2 separate regions of the Homo sapiens genome follow, and region 2 is linked to region 1. The links are contacts of gene promoters, found by promoter capture Hi-C in blood cells and fetal thymus (Javierre and others, 2016). All regions are on one chromosome and are shown on one strand. Each heading gives the region's core, a stretch centred on a gene start or on the middle of the fragment in contact. The rest is flanking DNA. Distances are from core to core; before and after follow the strand shown. Region 1 holds the start of MMP24-AS1-EDEM2 (MMP24-AS1-EDEM2 readthrough). Region 2 overlaps ACSS2 (acyl-CoA synthetase short chain family member 2).

Evidence for each region. Contacts are between HindIII fragments. The CHiCAGO score rates a contact against its expected background, and 5 or more counts as called.
Region 2: a fragment that was not itself captured here is called in contact with the fragment with the promoter of MMP24-AS1-EDEM2 in region 1 in 1 of 17 cell types (endothelial precursors); the score reaches 6.4 in endothelial precursors.

What each region holds. Positions count from the first base shown.
Region 1 is chr20:35,276,486-35,279,542 of GRCh38, forward strand. It overlaps MMP24-AS1-EDEM2 (MMP24-AS1-EDEM2 readthrough), which reads right to left and starts at 1,637. Exons shown (of 15, transcript NM_001355008.2): 1 at 1,561-1,637. It overlaps MMP24 (matrix metallopeptidase 24), which reads left to right. Exons shown (of 9, transcript NM_006690.4): 9 at 1-513. MMP24OS (MMP24 opposite strand) reads right to left here and starts at 1,637. Exons shown (of 2, transcript NM_001355003.2): 1 at 1,524-1,637; 2 at 1-1,447. The coding sequence starts at 1,444. The coding sequence ends at 1,229. It overlaps EIF6 (eukaryotic translation initiation factor 6), which reads right to left. Exons shown (of 7, transcript NM_002212.4): 7 at 2,433-2,721. The coding sequence ends at 2,712. RefSeq lists enhancers at 1-180, 767-866, 987-1,156 and silencers at 1,287-1,506, 1,597-1,816. The HindIII fragment of the contact is 17,447 bases long and covers 1-3,057 here.
Region 2 is chr20:34,879,597-34,882,653 of GRCh38, forward strand. All of the region lies in intron 1 of ACSS2 (acyl-CoA synthetase short chain family member 2), which reads left to right. Among named protein-coding and RNA genes, the nearest start is that of ACSS2, 4.5 kb to the left of the region's middle. The HindIII fragment of the contact is 1,520 bases long and covers 731-2,250 here.

The DNA.
Region 1 (3,057 bases), core at 387-2,886:
CCATCCAGTGGGCTGGCTGGGTCTTGTGTCCCCATCTGTGGACCCCTCTAGGGTCTGAGATGAGATGAGAAGTGTCTCCTGTATCCACCTCTTCCTGGCCTCCCTTCCCCCACTTCCTGGTCCCTGTCCACTCCTCAGGTTGGTGCTCTCACTTCTTGAAAGCTCTAGGCACCCCCGCCTCCCGCCAGGCTCCCCATTGGCTCCTGGCAGGCCAGCTGAGAATGAACAGGAGATGGAGGCAGGCAGCCCAGGCTGCAGAGGTGAGGGATGTGGGGCCAGGCCCAGAGGGCTCAGCCTAGAGGCTTCCAATCTCAGATTCTCCTGCCTGTGGTCATCTGTTTGTCCATCACCCCAGGACAGGGCAGACAGAGGGGCAAAGCACTGGGGGCCCCAGAGCCTAGCTTCCCCTCAGCCTGGGGGACATCACAGCATTTCAGTGTCAGTCACATTTTAAACTGATCAGCCTTTGTATAATGTTTTTTAAATCATTTCTAAATAAAACAGAAATACAGAGTGTGTCATTTCCCTGGGATGAGGGAACAAAGATCAGGTTCCAAGAGTAACCTTAGGACGCTCTGGGAAGAGAACCGGGTCCTTTGGGGTGTCTGGGAGCTGCCCACCCATCTCCTCTGCCAGACCGGCGGTCAGATAGCCTCCCTCTACAACAGGCTGGCCCTGGGGGCCCAGGGTTATTGGGGTTCCAGGAACACAGCCTGATGATGCCTCCTTACGATCCAGGATGGAGAGCAGCCCCCCCAGGAGTATGGGGAGGGTCACTGTGGCACGGGCTTCTCCATGACCTGGGACATGACCTGGGACACATAGTCAAGAGCACGGTTATCAGCAATACAGATATTAATAAAAGGCAGACGAAGTCAGGAGGTCAGCAACTTTGCGGGCTTACCAGGAGGCCTGTCCTGCCTCTGGAAGCCAGCGACAGAGAGGGATGCCCCCGACCCAGCCAGCCGGAGAAAGGGATGGGGTGGTCACGAAGGTCTGAGCTGGGTCTGGGTGTAGGCTGGGAAGCAGGCTGGGGTGTAGACTGCGAAGGCGGCCCTGCCGGGACTTCTTTCCAGTCCCCGGCGACCTCTTCGAATTCTCTGCTATCTCTGGGGAGCCTCGGGTGGGAGGGGGTGTAAGAGACGCAGGGACGTGGGGAGAGGAGACAAGGCAGGCAAGAACCACAGGGGACGGCGGACAGACGGGCGACATCCTGCGGAGGACGCCGTCAGTACCAGGAAGTGCAGGCGATGAGGAAGCGCACGTCGTCCAGCGGCCCCCACGGGCTGGGCTCGGGCTGGGGCTGGGGCTGGGGCTGGGGCTGGGGCTGGGGCGGATGCCGGGGCTGTTCCGGGCCCTCCGGCGCCGCAGGCTGGGGCTGGGGCTGGGGCTGGGTTTGCGCAGGCTCCGGGGCGCCGCGGCCGCCGCTTAGCTGAGCCCCCATGGTCTGCAAGAAGAGAAGCCCTTTAAGGTCTGGGTCGCCGGGACACCCCGCTAGGGCCCCGCCCCGGCTCTGCCCTCACCTCTCGCAGCCAGACCCGCGGGTCTCCCGGAACCCACCTCGGCGTCGGGAGGAGCTGGCGCCGTGACGCCACCACCGCGTACCGACCTCACCCTCCGTGCGTTGGAGCGGAAAGAAGGGACTCGACCCTGTGCTTCGGGGCGGGGCTCCGCGACCGTCCCCCGCCAATCCCGCCCCAGCGCCTCAAGGCCCCGCCCCGCGCAAGGGGACGGAATGCACCCCAACAGCCTCCAAGACGCCCAGGCCAGGAGGACGCTGGGAACCCGCTGCCCCGCCCCACGCCCACCCAGGAAAAGACCTGCAACCTCCATCCACCTTAGTCAAAGAATGCCCCGAAGCCAGATGCCCCAGAGCTCTCACAGGGGACTTGCCCAGCTCAGGGGAAAATCGGAACGGACTCTCTGCCTTTCAAGGCCAGAGAAGACCGGCGCAGAAGTCGGGTGAAAACTGTGAGAACTAGACCGGGCGCCGTGGCTCACGCCTGTAATCCCAACACTTTGGGAGGCCGAGGCGGTGGGTCGCTTGAGTTCAGGAGTATAAACCAGCCTGGGCAACACAGTGACTTCGTTTCTACAAAAAAATAAACGAGGCGAGAGGATCGCTTGAGCCCAACAGGTCAAGGCTACAGTGAGCCATCCTTGCGTCACAACACTCCAGCCTGGGTGACAGAGGGAGACACTGCCTCAAAAAGAAAAAAGAAAAAAGGAGAACTGTAGTGGAGAGTGTTTCTTGCCCCAGGATGAAGCCTCACATCCTGATGGTAGAGGAGAAGGGAATGGCGTGTGTGGAGGTGGTGAACTGGGTTGGGTGTGTGTTGTGTTCATCCCACCCTATCTTCCCAGAATGCTGGAACAACTGGAGAGTGCAGGGATTGTACACAGGCTGAGGGCCCCAAACATCACATTCAGAATGGCCCGGAGGGAACTGCACTTTAATGGGGTGGCACAGGACAGCAGAACCCTCAGCCAGCAGCCACAGGGCCTGCCAGCCAGCACAACAGAGCAGGTTTTTGCAGTAATGATAGATCCAGGCGATAAGCACAGGTGGAAAAGGGTTGGGTGCCCAGCCCCTCAGTCCCAGTGAGCTCTCTGCCACCTCCCTGCCAGCATCCGGTACAGATTGGGCGGAATGTGGAGAAGGTTGGCCACAGTCCAGAGCCAGGAGCCCATGGAACAACTTGGAAGGTGACTCAGGTGAGGCTGAAGAGAAAGGAAAGCGCACGGTCAGTAGCTGTTTCACAGAGCCCACCTCACTCTCAAGTGAGGTGCCTGCCTCAGCCCTCATCCCGGGACCAGCTCTGACAAGCTGCTCAAGCAGCTACTGCTCTAGTATCCTAGCCCTGAAAAACCACAAAGATGAGGATTAGCAGATGCTCAAGAAATATTTTTTGAATATGCTGGCTCTTATCTGCTCAGCAGTGTACAGATATGCTCTCACACTCGAGAAGCTACCAGAACAAACTGGTAGGCTCCCATTCTAGATGACATCTTTTCCCCATACTCTCAAAATGCAAGTTAACCCCCAACCCTGAGCAG
Region 2 (3,057 bases), core at 241-2,740, 400 kb before region 1:
GTGACGCACGTCTGTAATCCTGCTACTCAGGAGGCTAAGGCACGAGAATTGCTTGAACCCGGGAGACGGAGATTGCAGTGAGCCAAGATTGTGCCACTGCACTCCAGCCTGGGCGACACAGCGATACCCTGTCTCAAAACAAAAACAAAAACACCTCAGCTTTCTTCATTCTTTGTTGATGGACATAAATGTGGTTTATAAATAGTTTTATATACTATATGCCTACTATTATCACTTGAAAATATTTTTGAGTATTTGTACTCTCGTTATTAGCTGCGTGGTCCTTGGCAGAGTTTCCTGTGCTTCCTGAGCTTCAGTTTTCTCATCTATAAAATTAGGATAATTAATGTATACTTTGTAAGACCATAATGTCATAAAGATTAAATGAGATTAGTCCAGTCCCTGATACATGAATGGCATTTACTAAATACTAGCTCTCATTTGCTTTCTCTTTAATGGCCATTTATTATTCTATGGTATTACTACTTGTATTACTAGTTTTCATCAGTTTGTTATTGTTGGGCTATTGGGTTGTTTCCAGTTTCACTATTATAGTGTTGCTATAAACATCTCTTTACTAATCACTTTTTTTCTTTGTGATTATTTTCTTGAAGTCTATTCCCTATAGTTGAGATAGCAGAGAAAAGGGTATAAAAAGTTTTATGGGCTGGGCGTGGTGGCCCACACCTATAATCCCAGCATCCTTTGGGAGGGCAAGGTGGGCTCCCAAAGCTTGAGCTTAGGAGTTTAAGAACAGCCTGGGTAATATGGCCAAACCCTGTTTCTACAAAACAAACAAACAATGTGCGCCTGTAGTTCCAGCTACTGGTGGGGGAGGGGGTACAGCTGAGATGGGGGGATCACTTGAGCCAGGGAGATGGAGGTTACAGTGAGCTGAGATCATGCTACTGCACTCCAGCCTGGGTGACAAAGAGCGAGACACCGAGCTAAAAAAATAATAATAATAGAAATTAAAAAAAAAAAGTTTTATGGCTCTTGTCATGCATTGCCTTGCAATCTAATAAGACTGCGCCAATTTCTTACAATGCCATTATTGTGTAAGAGTATCTGTTTTCCCAGGGCCACCCAGACATTGGGCTTAATAATTTTTTTAAATTTTTACTAGTTTTCTAGGTATATAATGGCACCTTGGGGTTGATTTAATTTGGATTTCTTTAATACATTACAACGTTGTACACTATGTGATTTAGCTTTCAATTATATTCTGTCTTGTACATTAAAAAATATTTCATGTGTTAATCTTATCTCTCCAACTAGATTGTATAAGCTCTAAATTGTGTAACCTGAAACAAATGACTTAGCTTCTATGAATTTTATTTCTTATGAAATGAAATGAGGGGGTGATAATCTGTAAGGTTACTTCCATTGTTACGGTTCTAATTGCTTCTCTTTCCTCCAAATTTTTTTTTTTTTTTTTTTTTTTTTTTGAGATAGAGTCTTGTTCTGTTGCCTAGGCTGGAGTACAGTGGTGCAATCTCAACTCACTGCAACCTCCACCTCCCAGGTTCAGGCGATTCTCCTGCCTCACGCTCCTGAGTAGCTAGGAATACAAGCACCCGCTACCACACCTGGCAATTTTTTTTTTTTTTTTGTATTTTTAGTAGAGACAGGATTTCACCATGTTGGTCAGGCTGGTCTCGAACTCCTGATTTCAGGTGATCCGCCCGCCTTGGCCTCCCAAAGTGCTAGGATTACAGGAGTGAGCCACAGTGCCTGGCATCCTCTAACTCTTGATTCAGTACTCAGACTATCCTAAATTCTCTGCATTCATATGTTTTACCTGTTGAGTACATTTTCTGCAGAATAGCCAGGCAGATATTTTAAGAATGTAAATTTGATCATGTTACTTGCTTAAAACCCTTCAATGAATTTTCATTGCTCTTGGGATATATACCAAATTCCTTATTATACACAGAATTGCATGATTTGCCCAGTTTATGCATCAATTCCTGCTATTCTTTCCCTTATTCTCAGTGTTTCAGCCTCAAGGAGTTCCTCCTAACATATGCCCTTGGTCTCTTTTTTTCATATGGGAGTGGAGAAAAACTTCTATTCATCTTTCAGATTTTAGCAAAAATGTCTCAAGGAAGTTTAGATCTTGACTTAGTAATTGTGTAACCTTAGACAAGTTATTTAACCTCTCTGAGCCTTGATTTTCAAGTTTATAAAATGAGAAAAGCCTCCCTTCTAGAGTTGTGGTAAGGATTAAATGAGATAATACATATGAAAAGCTTAAAGAAACATTTGGCACATAGTGAATAACACTTATATAAGTAGAAGCTGGAGAAGGAGATGCTCAATATATAATTGCTGAGAGAGAATGCACGAATTAAGAGAAGAAAGAGTTGGTCATGGAAGGTTCTGTGGGTGAAGAATTTTTTCTTTTTACTAATTACTTCATTAAAAAATTTACTTTCTAGTTAGACAGATGGTGAAAAAAATTGTACCTGATTTCAGCAGAACTCGGTGTGTACCTATAATCCCAGCTTCTTGGGAGGCTGAGGCAGGAGGACAGCTGAGTCCAGGAGTTTAAGACAAGCCTGGGCAACAGCAACAAAAAATTACTGATTGCCTATTTTGTGCTAGGCATTGTGCTAGTACTAGGTGGCTCTGATTTTAATAGATGGTAAAAAGTGAGTAGGCAGTCTTGAGGACAGGAGGAAGAATTTGAGTCAAGATTCAGCCCAAGAGAATAGAAGATGGGTTAGAAGAGTGTTGGCTGCTGGCCGGGCGCGGTGGCTCAAGCCTGTAATCCCAGCACTTTGGGAGTCCGAGGCGGGCGGATCACGAGGTCAGGAGTTCGAGACCAGCCTGGCCAACATAGTGAAACCCCGTCTCTACTAAAAATACAAAAATTAGCCAGGCGTGGTGGCACGCGCCTGTAGTCCCAGCTACTCGGGAGGCTGAGGCAGGAGAATTGCTTCAACCGGGGAGGCAGAGGTTGTGGTGAGCCGAGATCATGCCACTGCACTCCAGCCTAGGTGTCACAGTGAGCCTCCATCTCCAAAAAAAAAAAAGTGGTGGGTGCTAAGATTA